Regions from separate parts of the Homo sapiens genome. Here region 2 is linked to region 1. Evidence: promoter capture Hi-C in 16 types of primary human blood cells and fetal thymus (Javierre and others, 2016). All regions are on one chromosome and are shown on one strand. Each heading gives the region's core, a stretch centred on a gene start or on the middle of the fragment in contact. The rest is flanking DNA. Distances are from core to core; before and after follow the strand shown.

Evidence for each region. Contacts are between HindIII fragments. The CHiCAGO score rates a contact against its expected background, and 5 or more counts as called.
Region 2: a fragment that was not itself captured here is called in contact with the fragment with the promoter of OR52J3 in region 1 in 1 of 17 cell types (erythroblasts); the score reaches 5.2 in erythroblasts.

The regions. Positions count from the first base shown.
Region 1 is chr11:5,041,800-5,049,728 of GRCh38, forward strand. It overlaps OR52J3 (olfactory receptor family 52 subfamily J member 3), which reads left to right and starts at 4,727. Exons shown (of 1, transcript NM_001001916.2): 1 at 4,727-5,662. The coding sequence starts at 4,727. The coding sequence ends at 5,662. The HindIII fragment of the contact is 8,727 bases long and covers 1,149-7,929 here.
Region 2 is chr11:4,623,703-4,631,631 of GRCh38, forward strand. No RefSeq gene overlaps it. Among named protein-coding and RNA genes, the nearest start is that of OR51D1, 9.8 kb to the right of the region's middle. The HindIII fragment of the contact is 2,104 bases long and covers 1,838-3,941 here.

The DNA of each region.
Region 1 (7,929 bases), core at 3,477-5,976:
TAAATCTACTCTGCCTGTGCTCTGTAAGTGGAACAACAAAGCCTGGATGATAGTACATCTGTTTATAGCATAGTTTACTAAATTTTTTATTTTGTTTTGTTTTTGAGACGGAATCTCGCTCTGTCTTCCAGGCTGGAGTACAGTGGCCGGATCTCGGCTCACTGCAACCTCTGCCTCCTGGGTTCAAGCAATTATCCTGCCTCAGGCTCCCGAGTATCTGGGATTACAGGTGTGCACAACCACGCCCGGCTAATTTTTTTTTTTTTTTTTTTTTGTATTTTTAGTAGAGATGGGGTTTCACCATGTTGGCCAGGATGGTCTCGATCTCTTGACCTTGTGATCCACCTGCCTTGGCCTGGCAGGGATTACAGGCATGATCCACCACGCCCGGCCATTTACTGAATATTTTAAGCACACTGAGCACACTTACTGCTCAGTAAAAAAATATTCATTTCAAAATACTACTCATTGACAATGCACCTAATCACCCAAGAATTCTGATTGAGACATATGTGATTCATCTTGTTTCCATGTCTGCTAACACAACATGCATTCTGCAGCCCATAGGTCAATAAGTAATTTTTACTTTCAAGTCTTAATGTATAAGAAATATTTCATAAGGTTACAATTGAAGTAGATAATGATTCTTCTGATGGATCTGGGTGGAATAAATTGAAAACCTTCTGGAAAGGATTCACCATTGGAGATAACATTAAGAGCATTTATGATTCATGGAGGAGATCCAAACATCAACATTAACGGGAGTTTGGAAGAAGCCCATTCCAACCTCATGGATAACGTTGAGGGGTTCAAGACTTCAGTGGAGGAAGCAGCTGCAGATATGGTTGAAATAGCAAGAGAAATGGAATTAGAAGTGAAACCTGAAGATGGAACTGAATGCTGCAATCTCACGACAAAAGGTTAATGGATGAGGAGTTGCTATTTATGGATGAGCAAAGAAAGTGATTTGTTGAAATGATAAATAATTTAGAGTATTATATAATATAAAGTGAGTAGATGAGGCAGCAGCAGGGTTTGAGAGAAATGACTAATTCTGAAAGACGCTCTGCTAAGGGTAAAGTGGTACAAAATAGAATTACATGGTACAGAAAAGCCTTTCATGAAAGAAAGAGTCTATTGATTTGACAAGCTTCACTGTTGTTTTATTTTACGAAATTGCCACAGCCACTCCAACTGTCAACAACTACCACCCTGAGCAGTCAGCAGCCATCAGATGATCATTAGCATTTTCTTCAAAGTACTTTTTAATTAATGTATGTTTATTGCATTTTTATACATAATGCAATTGCACACTTAATAGACTATAGTATAGTGTCAACATAACTTTTATATGCATTGGTGTCATAGTCTGTGTTCCTGATAATAGAATACCTGAAAATGGGTAATTTATAAATAATATAATTTATTTCTTGTGGTTATGGAGGTTGAGATGTCTGAGGTTGAGGGCCCCCATTTGGTGAGATACTTCTTGCTGGTGGGGACTCTGCAGGGTCTCAAGGAAGTGTGGGGCATCATATGGTGAGGGGGGCTAATGTGCTAGCTCAGGTCTCTCTTAGTTCCATTCCCATTAATCTCTTAATCCATTAATCCATAAGTAGATTAATTCATTCATGAGGGCAGAACTCTCATGACCCAATTATCTCTGAAAGGCCCCAGCTTTCAATACTGCCACATTGGAGGTTAAGTTTCAACATGAGTTTCAGAGACTCAGACATTCAAACTATAGCAAGCAGGAAACCAAAATATTCGTGTGACTCACTGTATTGTGACATTCACTTCATTGCAGTGGTATGGAACTGAAGCTGCAATCTCTCTGAGGTATGCCTGTATTTGAATTCGTAAACTTTCAGAAGTTTAAATTTAAAGTTTGTGTGATATAATCAAAAAGACTAAAGAGTAAGATGACAAATTTAACTTTATGTTTTTAAGTCTGTGCTTTACATCTTAAACTTGATTGTATCTTCAGTATTGTTTAAGATATCTTCTCCCGCATGAAGTAAAAAGATAGTAATTCTCCCATTTATTATAATGTTATTTTAGTGAGAATGAGAAATATATATATACATTTGACTGAAAAACGAGGGATAAAATGTTAGAATAAATGAGAACTTTCACACCAAATGTATAGACTTAGTGACATGAGAGTTTTCTCCATATGGTTTTCATAGATCAGATGTCTAAGAAGAAGGTGTTGTTATGAGCTGAGTTATGTGATAACAAAAACTAACATTTTAAAATCATTTAAAGCATTTTAAAAACATTTAAAATCATTTAAGCATGCTAAGTATTGTATTTAAGTGTATTATATTAACAACTTAAATTATTCCTCAAAAATATTATAAGCTATGGGTACTATTATCATTCTTAATTTTTCAATTGAGGAAACTGAGACAAAGAGATAATAAGAAAGTCATTCAAATTGACACAGATAGTATACATGAGAAATTCAGTGTTTGATCTGAAGCAAACTCATTTCATGAGTAGATATTTTTACTAATTATCTCTATGACCTCTGTGATATAAGTATGAAAAATTGGCAAGTGGGGGAATATAGAGAAACAATCATGGACAGAGGGCAGTGTGACCAAAGGCTCAAGGATCTTAATCCATAGACTAAACATTTAATAAACTCAGAACATATGGTGATTGAAATGAATACGAGAGCTAAGATTGAACGTGGAGTCTGCAATGCCAGGTTATTAGGCTTTAACTTAGGTAGTTAATATGGATCAAGGACTATTTTATCTAGAAAGCAACATCCCACAGAATTTGGTGGTAAAATTTCACTTAGAAATAAAATGTATCTATCTGTATGCCATATATTAAATAATAATATTTGGATGTTTTTGCTCCCACAACTGCATCTTTTTGTAGGAACATTTCTATACTCATCACTTTTCTTTGGGCTTCTATTCCCTAGATCAGAGTCAAAAATTTTGTTAACCATCTCAGAGGATTCAATCTCATGGTGCCAATTATAGTAGAAAACCCAGCTAACTCAATTTTCCTAATGTTCTAAGCAACTAAAGCCTTAATATAAAACGACTCTTCTTGGACTGTAAAAATGACAAGGCTATAGAGCCATGCTGCTTGATACTCCCCTTGAGCTTATATTTCTATGACATAATAAGGCAGGTGAATTTTCTCTTGACTTAGGTATGTATTACATTGAAATAAGTGAGAAATGATCAAGGGTTGCTGAGCTTGCTGGGCTTGATATTGATCAGGTAGTACAATTTCTGACTCTAATGGAATAAAAATCCTTTGAAACTCTTAAATGGAGATTGAAAATTTAAAAACGATCTAGAAGACCCATGGAATAGATGTATTTATTCAAAGCAATTATATAGTTTATTGGTAAAATATATGTTCTGCCTTTCCTATGGGTTATAAGGAATAAAATGGACTTCTGTAGAAATACAGCTTATTTCTTTCTCTCTCCTTTTCTCTCTCTTTCTTGCTCTCTATATCTCTACCCCCCTCCACACCTCAGAATGGGTATATTATTTATTTTATTTTTTATCTTGATGTATTTTCCACTTTGACATACTTGTCAGAAATATGGAGCTACATAAATGGTGAAACAGGAGTCTGTGCTACTTTCTTCTATCCTGAACCACTCTGCCACAAGTTGGAGACCCACAGAAGTTTGATTTCATTATTTCAGCTTATGAGTGGTTGCTTCTTCATAATTTCAAAAGCATTGAAAGAGCACCCTTATATATTTCCTTTAGAAAATTACAGAAAGTAATTTTATCTGCAAATAGACCTTTTTATTCCAGTTTTGTGTCATCAAAAACATCTTCTCCAAATACATAACCAAAGGAGTCTTCTAGGTTGTCTCTACCTACCTGAAAAGTGACTTAATCAGGCAGGAGGTATAAACCCAGTATATACTAGTTAGAGAACTAATATAGAGTGAAGAGTAAATGATGCTTTCAAATACCACTAGAAACTACCATCACTATAGAAATCCAAAATGAGCCACCGAAAAATTTGTTGCTCTTGAGAAAGTACTTTAATCAGTGAAAATCCTCAACAGGTTTATTATTTTCTTTCTGAGCTCTTTCATGTGTGGTGGTATGTGACCCAGCCTGTGTTTGCTCCTGGGGCAAGCATTCCAGGGTGTTTACGCTTTTGTTTGTTATATCTACATTTCTCATGTTATCTTTCTGTCTTTTTGATAGGATATTAGGCTTAATCTTGGCATGTGCCCTACATCAATAAATGATTAACAAATCATTAGAAGAACTTTTGCAGTTTTTAATTATAAAAATATGTGTACATCTGTGTCTGTAACTTCATGTCCTCATTAGTCTGTCTCCTCCTGAATTAATCGGCATTTCGCTTGTGTGTATCTTTGATTTTTCAGGCATTCCTCTTCAACCAAGGGACTAATAAAGGGTACAGGGCATCTTCAATTATTCCAGTTAAATATCAGACTCTATGTCATAGAATCCTTCAATTTTTAATGTGTAAGTTTACACATTATACTACAATCATTATGTAAACATAAGAATTAAGTTATTTGAGACTGATCTATTCAAATGACTGTAGATTACAAAACACAGTAACAGGACCCTCCAAATAACCTTTTCTTTTTGCTCTGCATATACTGAATGAAACACAAACTTCTTATTCAATCTTCTCTCCCCAGCTGCTGCTTCTACATGTGGCAAGTTCTCCTACACTGTGATTTGGAAAAATGTTTTATCACAACAAGAGCATATTTCACCCAGTCACATTTTTCCTCATTGGAATCCCAGGTCTGGAAGACTTCCACATGTGGATCTCCGGGCCTTTCTGCTCTGTTTACCTTGTGGCTTTGCTGGGCAATGCCACCATTCTGCTAGTCATCAAGGTAGAACAGACTCTCCGGGAGCCCATGTTCTACTTCCTGGCCATTCTTTCCACTATTGATTTGGCCCTTTCTACAACCTCTGTGCCTCGCATGCTGGGTATCTTCTGGTTTGATGCTCACGAGATTAACTATGGAGCTTGTGTGGCCCAGATGTTTCTGATCCATGCCTTCACTGGCATGGAGGCTGAGGTCTTACTGGCTATGGCTTTTGACCGTTATGTGGCCGTCTGTGCTCCACTACATTACGCAACCATCTTGACATCCCAAGTGTTGGTGGGCATTAGCATGTGCATTGTAATTCGTCCCGTTTTACTTACACTTCCCATGGTCTATCTTATCTACCGCCTACCCTTTTGTCAGGCTCACATAATAGCCCATTCCTACTGTGAGCACATGGGCATTGCAAAATTGTCCTGTGGAAACATTCGTATCAATGGTATCTATGGGCTTTTTGTAGTTTCTTTCTTTGTTCTGAACCTGGTGCTCATTGGCATCTCGTATGTTTACATTCTCCGTGCTGTCTTCCGCCTCCCATCACATGATGCTCAGCTAAAAGCCCTAAGCACGTGTGGCGCTCATGTTGGAGTCATCTGTGTTTTCTATATCCCTTCAGTCTTCTCTTTCCTTACTCATCGATTTGGACACCAAATACCAGGTTACATTCACATTCTTGTTGCCAATCTCTATTTGATTATCCCACCCTCTCTCAACCCCATCATTTATGGGGTGAGGACCAAACAGATTCGAGAACGAGTGCTCTATGTTTTTACTAAAAAATAAGACTCTTACCATGTTATTTTACTAAGGGCTTTGATCCTTCTATAAAGACCGATATGTTCTTGCCTTAAGGAATATCTCCTGATCCTTAACTTATTGCTGTCAACTTGCAATACAAGTTGGTTTGTTCCTGGATGCTGACTAATAATGGATTTTAAAACTGTCAGAAACATCATTGTAGTTGAAGTTCAAAGACTGACCAACTATCCTGGAAGGGATATCCTGGGAGAGAACTGTGGGGCCTTTGACTGCATGACCTTGTGAAGAATGCTTGTTAGCACAGGCTGCTGCTTTTCTGGGGAAAGAACATATTTTACTGAGTGTTTTTTGACTAGTGATGAGAGATATGTGGCACTGGAAATTTACCCTGTAAACTACTTTATTTATTCCTTTAATCTTTCTTTCCTTATTTTCTTCCTTTCTTTCTTTTTTCCTTTTATTCTTTTTCTCTTACTTCTGTTTATTCATGCATCATGCATTTTATGATTCCTTTAATTTATATTCATTCAATGTCTGGCCCTATGGAGCTTGCATTCTGTTGTCCTCTTACAAAGCAAATTTCACGGGTTCAAAACAATCTTTGCCAAATCTGTAGCTTCAAGTGGAATCATATGCCAAAGACATGACACTCAGTGCAATGATAGCCAAAACAAACACACAATTTCAAAACTATTTATCAGTAATACCAGCATAACTTATCACTGATTGCTTTTCGGAATTCATGACCATAACATAAGCACCAGTTAGGTATAGCATTTTTACGTCTGTGATATGTGGAGGTCTTTGCCTATCACTTTTTCCAGTATTCTCTCAATCTATATTTGACCCTAAAAGACTCTATTTCAAAATCCAAGACCTCTCTTTCCAACCTGTAATCTGTCATTTGTTCTCCCACAGACTTTAATATAGACTATGTCATATCTAGCTATGGATAGCCACATTTCACATGATGCTGAAGGTTTTCAATTTATTTAATAAGATTTCCAAAGACCAAGCAATTAATTACCTTTTGAATTATCAAACTTGTCACATTGTTTTTTACAATTATACTCATTTTGTCTTATGTAGGTTATTAAAAATATAAAGCAAAAATGTAACAAATAGCTTTGTTCCTGATACCAAAAATTAACAACTTTTTATATTGCGCTCATCTCAAAGAGGATGTTTAAATAACATGCACACAGCATGAAAGCTAATATCACCTTTAACACTGCCCCAGCAGATTTCTCTCCCAATTTCCAGAGGCAAAGGCTAGCATGTGTGTTTTCTGATTTCACATTGCAAATTTTTAGATTTACAACCAATCACAGTATTTTTGTTAATCATTTGTTATTTGTTTATATAGATTAATGTACTCCATGTTTTGTTTTGTAACATTGATTTCATTTATATTTTTATTTTCTAATAGATAATTCATCTTATTATTTTTAATTACAAAACATGCTGCACATCTTTGTATTTATTTGTTTCTACATTTTAAGTTAATTTATCCAGGTTTTATTCTTTAAAGTAGAATTCTTAGGTAGCAGGTTTACAACCCATCAGAACATATTTCTGCTTTCTTGATATTTGTTTTTTAATCACTTTCTGATTTTACATTTCCTGTTGCTTTCCTTTTTTTTCACTTTCATGATTCTTGTTATTTTAGTTCCCTTTATGAATAAAAAATTTCCTCCACTGATATTTAAAAATTGCATATCCGTTATCTGTTTTTCTATTGGGTATTATTAAAAAATTAACCTCACCAATTTCATCTTTCTTTTTTTCTAATAAAAACTAATTTGTAACTACCCTACTCTGAAGAAACAAACATATTAATCCTCTTTTAACTTTTGCTATTTTTCTTCTACATCTATCTCGCTCATGTTGCTGCCATCTGGAATCTTACTTGCAGGTTTAAAAATAGAAATAAAAACACTAAAATATATATATATGTTTTTTTTCAAATTTTATTTTATTTTAGCTTCAGATGGAACATGTGCAGGTTTGTTGCATAAGTATAGTGAATATTGCTGAGGTTTAGGCTTTTAATTATCTTGTCACCCATGTAGTGAACATAATAGCTGATAGGTAGTTTTTCAACACTTGCCTCCGTCTCTTCCTCCCCTCTTTTGGAGTTTCCAATGTTTATTGTTCCCATCTTTCTGTCCATGTGACCCAGTGCTTAGCTTTCACTTATGAATCAGAACATGCAATATTTGCTTTTGTGTTTCTTCATTAATTCGATTAGGATAATGGCCTCCAGCTGCATCCATGTTGCCGCAAAGGAC
Region 2 (7,929 bases), core at 1,640-4,139, 420 kb before region 1:
TTACAACCCTTTTGCTAAAGGCCAGATAAGCATCTTAAGACCACCTTGCTGTGCTTTTATTTTGATGCTCAGTTTATGAAAAGACCATATATTCAAAAGATCCTTTTGAATTAATGTTTACACACTTTTGCAAGATTAATTTTTACAATCTTTCTATAACTTGCTTAAACCTCTAGCTCTGTCTTATCAAATTTAATATAATCCTTCATCCCTGGGCAAAATTAACATTTCCATTCTTTCCTATAATCTTTTACTAAAGACACATTTTACTGTTTTTATATGCCTTTCATATAAAACTATTTAGTGATCATGTTGCTCTGTTACTCTTAGCAACCGTTACTTTTGGTGAAAAACCTGGTTAGTAAGCGATTTTAATTATGTGCCATGTGTGGCGCTTAGGACCCAGACAGAAGTGCAGATAAGGCTTGTCTCTTTCCAGATTCTAACTCCCTGTGCCTTACCTAACTGTAAAGCAGGCAGTATACAACCTCGAACCATTTAGCAAACCTAGTATCTAAATTGAATGATTTAGACCACCTATTGCATTTTGATGACACTTGCATTTTACCGATAATCCTTAAGACTATTTTTACTTCTTACAGATTAAACTATTTGCTTTTAATTCCTGTGGTTTCACGAGGAAAACAGGGTTTTTTTTTTTTTTTTTTTTCCCAAAACAGGGTCTGTGGTGCCTCGTAGTTCCATGCTACCAGAAGTTATCTTAGGGCGTCTTATGTGTGCATTAAGAGTGGCAAGCCAAAAAATGGAGAAAAATAATTCAGTTGACTGAGAAGAAAAAAAACTTTTTCCAGAAAGACAAGATCCAAGAAGAGAAAAACATAAAGGCCTTTTAAATATACCTATAACTTGAATATCCACTTTTAATTAAGCTGAGAGCTTTTTAAGAAAATCCTTTTAAATCTCTTGTTACTAGACTTTAGCCATGCGAAGCAATTAAGATTTTCAGCTTTTGAACGTTACAAAAAGTAATCTCACAGGTGAAACCAACAAGCCTTAATTAGGTTATGACTTAACCTCAAGTGTATATGGTGTTTTCAAAGGGGTGATAGGCAGCTTTTAAAACTATCATTGCAAAATTATTACTGAGACAGTGGAAGAGATCTGACCCAACCAACTCCATTTTGTTTCCAGCTCCCAAGCTATCCTTGCCTATCCCTGGGCATAGGCCAAACCAACTTTTGGAGGAGCTGGGTTTATAGTTTATAGTCTAAAACAAAGATGGTAACAGCCCCTTCTTAAGATAGGCTTACCTCTTGCCTGGGGAGCAGACCAAGAAACTAGCCATAAGATTAGAAACCATGGCCTAGGAGTCATGGAGCTGAGGCTACAAGATTCTGACCCTCCCTTAACTGCTCTCAAGATTAGTCCTTAATATATTTTGTAAACCCTGCTCTTGATGGATCAGCTGGCACCACCTAGATTGACAAACTGGCTTATCTGATTGTGTGGTCCTCACCCAGGAACTGACTTAGCACAAGAAGACAGCCACCATTGTAAAATGGTGGAGACTAAAACAAAGTATTGCCATGTGGTTCCAGGTCATGTTCCCAAGGACCTGAAACAAGATGGAGGCCTGTAGTCAAGTTTGTTACTGATTATGTTGTTGGGCTGGCTTGAACAGCAGGCTTATGGGGTCCTGGGCCTGCATTCTATTTTCGCTTTTCCTTTTAGGCCTGCTATAGAAGACATATTGCTTATCTCCAAATTTCTCTGCTGCCTACAGAATTGCCTGCTTCTCAGCTGTGGTTAGGGTTTGGCTTAGAAGCAGCATAACATCCCTCCATGAGAAGTCAAATACCTAAGTTAAATTTTGGAAAGCTTCTATATACCTATCAGGGTCGTTAGAAAATTGACCTAAGTCTCCCTTTATTTGTCTAAGATCTTGTAATGAGAAGGGAACTTGAAGGGGCCCCAAATAAAGGGGAGCCTCAGATAGTTCCCCTGGGAGTTGCTTCTCTAATTTTAGAGAATTATTTTCTTTTGGACCTGCCTGATATGATTGCTAAAAGAGCTGGGTTTATTTTGCAATGCTTGCAGAGGTCTAGTAAAAAGGTCATGCCCTTGTGCAAAAGAAAATGAGCCACATTTTTGTTAAAGTTTCTGGGTCACAGAAGTCCTTGTGCTTCAGAATGCACTCCAGAGGAACTAAGCAATTAGGGCTAGTCATGCTCACCCAGGTGGCTCTAGTCCTGGGTGACTTTTGACTTCCTAGACTTGTGTGAGCCGCCTGGCTCCCTGAAAAACGGATCTCAAGAAAAACTATGTAATAGTTGGGCAAGGCCCCTTTAATGGGCGGGGGGGGGGCATGCTAGATTAAACTCTGTATCTTGCTATTATGGCCGGTGCTGAAGCATTTACCTTTATAGAATGGTTTTGGCTAACTTCCAAACTTAAAATCCCCTTACTAGTTAGGTACCACTCTAATTGGAGGCAGAATAGGTGCCTTAAGAGAACATAGGGACTGAATGGCCATTTATCTGCTGATGGGACAGTATTGAGGCTAAAATTTGGCTACAGAGGACATTTTGCTCCTAATTGTTGAAGGCAGAGCTTTCCCATTCACAGTTGAAGCCTTTCTAGCAGTGCGAAAAGCCAGGATTGGGACACCGCAGTTTATGGCATAGGACTCACAATGTGCCTCATGAAGAGGATTTCTGTTTCCACTAGGTGGCGCTGTTGGCCTAGTAATACCTTGTACTCACCAGAGAAACGGTAAAGACGTTTATTGAGTTACTGCATGTTTGCCGATCTTTCCTAACAGAACTGTTCCCCTGAATTGTAAAAATTCCTGCACATTGCATATACGGAGAGCATAGTAGACATAATGACCATGGATAGAAAAGAAAGGAAAGTTTTGTGACAGGATAGCTGGAGATCCTTTACCAACACCTGGACGGACTGTCAGAGGCTGGGTTCAGTCCAGAAGCCTTTGAATAATGCCAGGGGTTCGTTGTCGCATGCCAAGAAAATTTAGGACACAGACACAGGTGGAATTTAGGAGCAGAGGTTTAATAGGTAGAAGAGAAGAGAAAGAGGAACAGCTTCCTCCATAGAGGAAGGGTTCTCCAAGCAGAAAAGACCATGCGGAAAGGATGGAGAAGAAAAAAACACCAGCTGGCAGGGAATGCACCGATTGTTTTAGTCTGGCATGAGGAGGTGGTGTCTGATTTATGTAGGGCTCACAGATTGGTTCAATTAGGTATGACATTTACATGGCACATGGGGAAGGCTGGTCACCTTACCCTAATCTTATGCAAATGGGCTTTTCAGTTATCAGCCCCATCTGGTCTGCTCCTTAGGATACACGCGGCTGGCAGAGAAGGGAAGATGGAGCCACCATTATGAAAATGTCTAGTCCTCAGTTTCTGCGGCATTCACCCATGCAAGCTCCCAGCTTGCAGGCTGCTCTTTGTTAGAAAATGATTTGGGGGTTCCCTTGCTATCTGCCTAAGTAATTCCTTCTTAACTCCTGTATCAGTACCTCAGGGGGTGTAAACTGTGGCTTTCGAAAATTTGCAGGGATTTGTATCTTCTATTTCTTTTGTGCTTTTAGGTAGGGAAAAAATCATTGGCTAAGTTGATCAAGGGGATCTGAGAATTAAGCCAAGAATAAATGTAAAAATGGGATGCTTAATTACTGAAGAACTGAGTACTCCATCTTCTAGCGACACTTACCTATAGTATTAAGTATTAGGCCCGGGAAGCAGCACACATTGACAAAAGTCGTAAAATCTTACTAAAAATAATGAAAAATTATAATAGAAAGCTCCAAATGAACAACACTCCATTTTGAAAAGTGCATTTGAAAATTAGAGCTGTCTAATTAGGCTCATCCAGGGATGCCTATTGATGTGCAGATGCTTCTAAAAAGATTTCATTGTTTTTATTGTTTTTAAGAAAAGTCTTTATAAAAGACAAAAAGCTTAAGCAACTAATTGATAAGAAAAATTAAGTCTTCTAACCTTTTAGTCTGGTTACTACCCTGCCCTGAAGGTGAAGAGAAAGCTGGATAAAGTGTTTGTAAAAGGTAGACCCTCAGGTAAAGTAGGCTTCCTGTTTTTTTTTCAGAGCTATGCATGAGTCTACACATAGCAAATGCTTTCTTTGCACTATTCCTTAATGGGCTTCACCCTAAATGCAGTAATTTTAGGTAAAAAACAGAAGCTAAGTTAAAATGACCACCTATGGAACAAAATCAGTCTTCAAAATATACCTTTTGGCATTTAGGTGGATATTTTGAAATGCTTTTGAAAAGAAATTTACATCTATAAAGGAACTGTCCATTTGTGAGGGTGTTTGCCTCTGTACACCAAAGAGAGGAAGGACTGAGCCACTAGAAATTCTTACCATTGTATTTCATTTACATAACAAGTCTTACTTTTGTTTAAGGTGCTTTTCCTGGCCATCTTGTCTTAAATGGGCTTTTACCTACATGCTTTTTCTTTGGCTTGAGGAAATGATGGTAGGATATTTAGGTCTGAAGTCTCAGCTCTGTACTTTTAAGATACAAATTTTCCACCTTGTTTCACCTAGGAGTCATCGTTTTAGAAGTGCAAATTTAGGACTGCCTAGCTAACAGTTGCGTAGGGCAATGAAACAAGCCATTGGAAGACTGATAGTCTGAATGGGGAAAATAAAAACTGTTTGGAAGTTGACAAATGAAACATCTTAATGAAAGCTATAAGATGTGCCTCTGTCTGTTTATATGATATTTCTATGTGATTTAAGATAACATACAGCAAATAAAGCTAGTTTTAAAATTATTGTTAAAATTCCTATTTAGGAATGTCTTCAGAATTGTCAGTATTAAAAATAATTGAGACAATTTTGCTTGGGTTTACTAGTCAGATATGCTTATGCTGATCCTCTCCCTTCTCACACCCCAAACCCTCCAACAGGCCTCAGTGTGTGTTGTTTCCCCCATATATCCATGTGTTCTCATCGTTTAGCTACCTTATAAGAGAGAACATGTGGTATTTGGTTTTCTGTTCCTGCATTAGTTTGCTAAGGATAATGGCCCCCAGTTCCATCCATGTCCCTGCAAAGGATATGATCTCGTTCCTTTTTATGGCTGCATCCTATTCCGTAGTGTCTATGTACCACATTTACTTTATCCAGCCCACTGTTGATGGACATTTAGTTTGATTCCTTGTCTTTGTTATTGTGAATAGTGCTGCAATGAACATATATGTGCATGTGTCTTTATAATAGAATGATTTATATTCCTTTGGGTATATACCCAGTAATGAGATTGCTGGGTCAAAAGGAATTTCTGCCTCTAGGTCTTTGAGGAATTGCCACACCATCTTCCAAAATAGTTGAACTAATTTACATTCCCACCAACAGCATAAAAGTGTTCCTTTTCTCCACAACCTCGCCAGCATCTGTTATTTTTTGATATTTTATTAATAGCCATTCTGACTGGTGTGAGATAGTATCTCATTGTGGTTTTGATTTGCATTTCTGTAATGATCAGTGATGTTGAGCTTTTTTTCATGTTTGTTGGCTACATGTATGTTTTCTTTTGAGAAATGTCTGTTCATGTCCTTTGCCCACTTTTTAATGGGGTTGTTTTTTCTTGTAAATTTGTTTAAGTTTCTTATGGATGCTCAATATTAGACCTTTGTCAGATGGATAGCTTGCAAAAGTTTTCTCCCATTCTGTAAGTTGTTTGTTTACTCTGTCGATTATTTGTTTTGCTGTGCAGAAGCTCTTTAGTTTAATTAGATCCCATTTGTTAATTTTTGCTTTTGTTGCAATTGCTTTTGGTATTTGTATGAAATAGTTGCCTGTTCCTATGTCACGAATGGTATTACCTTGGTTTTCTTCTGGGGTTTTTATAGTTTTGGGTTTCACATTTAAGTCTTTAATTCATCTTGAGTTGACTTTTGTATATGGTAATAACAAAGGGGTCCAGTTTCAATTTTCTGCATATGGCTAGCTAGTTGTCCCAGCACCATTTATTAAATAGGGAATCATTTCCCCATTGCTTGTTTTTGTCAGGTTTGTCAAAGATCTGATGGTTGTAGCTTTACAGTCTTATTTCTGGAATTTCTATTCTGTTCCATTGTCCTTTACAGACAATTAAATGCTGAGGGATTTTGTCACCACCTGGCCTGAAGGAAGGCTTCTGAAGGAAGCACTAAATACGGAAAGGAAAAACCAGTATCAGCCATTGCAAAAATATACCAAAATGTAAAGACCAATGACACTATGAAGAAACTGCATCAACTAATGTGCAAAATGAGCAGCTAGCATCATGACGACAGGACCGAATTCACACATAACAATATTAACCTTAAATGTAAGGGGCTAAATGCCCCAATTAAAAGACAGAGACTGGCAAATTGGATAAACCCATCAGTGTGCTGTATTCAGGAGACCCATCTCATGTGCAAAGACACACATAGGTTCAAAATAAAGGGATGGAGGAATATTTACCAAGCAAAGGGAAAGCAAAAAAAAAAAAGAAAAAAAAAAAGCAGGGGTTGCAATCTTAGTCTCTGATAAAACAGACTTTAAACCAACAAAGATCAAAAGAGACAAAGAAGGCCATTACATAATGGTAAAGTGATCAATGCAACAAGAAGAGCTAACTATCCTAAACATATATATGCACCCAATACAGGAGCACCCAGATTCATAAAGCAAGTTCTTAGAGACCTACAAAGAGACTTAGACTCCCACACAATAATAGTGGGAGACTTTAACACCCCACTGTCAATATTAGACAAATCAATGAGACAGAAAATTAACAAGGATATTCAGGACTTTAACTCAGCTCTGGACCAAGCGGACCTAATAGACATCTACAGAACTCTCCACCCCAAATCAACAGAATATACATTCTTCTTAGCACCACATAGCATTTATTCTAAAATCGACCACATAAGTGGAAGTAAAACACTCCTCAGCAAATGCAAAAGAATGGCTGGCTCAACATACACAAATCAATAAGTGTAATCCAGCACACAAACAGAACCAGTGACAAAAACAACATGATTATCTCAATAGATGCAGAAAAGGCCTTCTGTAAAATTCAACACCCCTTCATGCTAAAAACTCTCAATAAACTAGGTATTGATGGGTGGGACATATCTCAAAATAATAAGAGCTATTTATGACAAACCCATAGCCAATATCATATGGAATGGGCAAAAGTTAGAAGCATTCCCTTTGAAAACTGGCACAAGACAAGGATACCCTCTCTCACCACTCATATTCAACATAGTATTGGAAGTTCTGGCTGGGGCAATCAGGCAAGAAAAAGAAATAAAAGGTATTCAAATAGGAAGAGAAGAAGTCGAATTGTCTCTGTTTGCAGATGACATGATTGTATATTTAGAAAACCCCTTTGCCCATGCCTCCAGCTACAAAACAATTCCATTGCTGTTTTTGTTTTTGTTTTTGTTTTTTTGGTCCAAAATAAAACCTCAGCTAGCTCTGCCAAAAAAAAAAGAAAAAGAAAAAAAGAAAAAAGAAAAAAAAAAAAAACCCATTGTCTCAGCCCCAAAACTCCTTAAGCTGATAAGCAACTTCAGCAAAGTCTCAGAATACAAAATCAATGTGCAAAAATCACTAGCATTCCTATACACCAATAATAGACAAACAGAGAGCCAAATCATGAGTGAACTCCCATTCACAATTGCTACAAGGAGAATAAAATACCTAGGAATACAACTTACAAGGAACCTGAAGGACCTCTTCAAGGAGAGCTACAAACCACTGCTCAAGGAAATGAGAGAGGACACAAACAAATGGAAAAAAATTCTATGCTCATGGATAGGAAGAATCAATATTGTGAAAATGGCCACACTGCCCGAAGTAATTTATAGATTCAATGCTATTCCCATCAAGCTAACTTTGACTTTCTTCACAGAACTAGAAAAACTACTTTAAATTTCATAT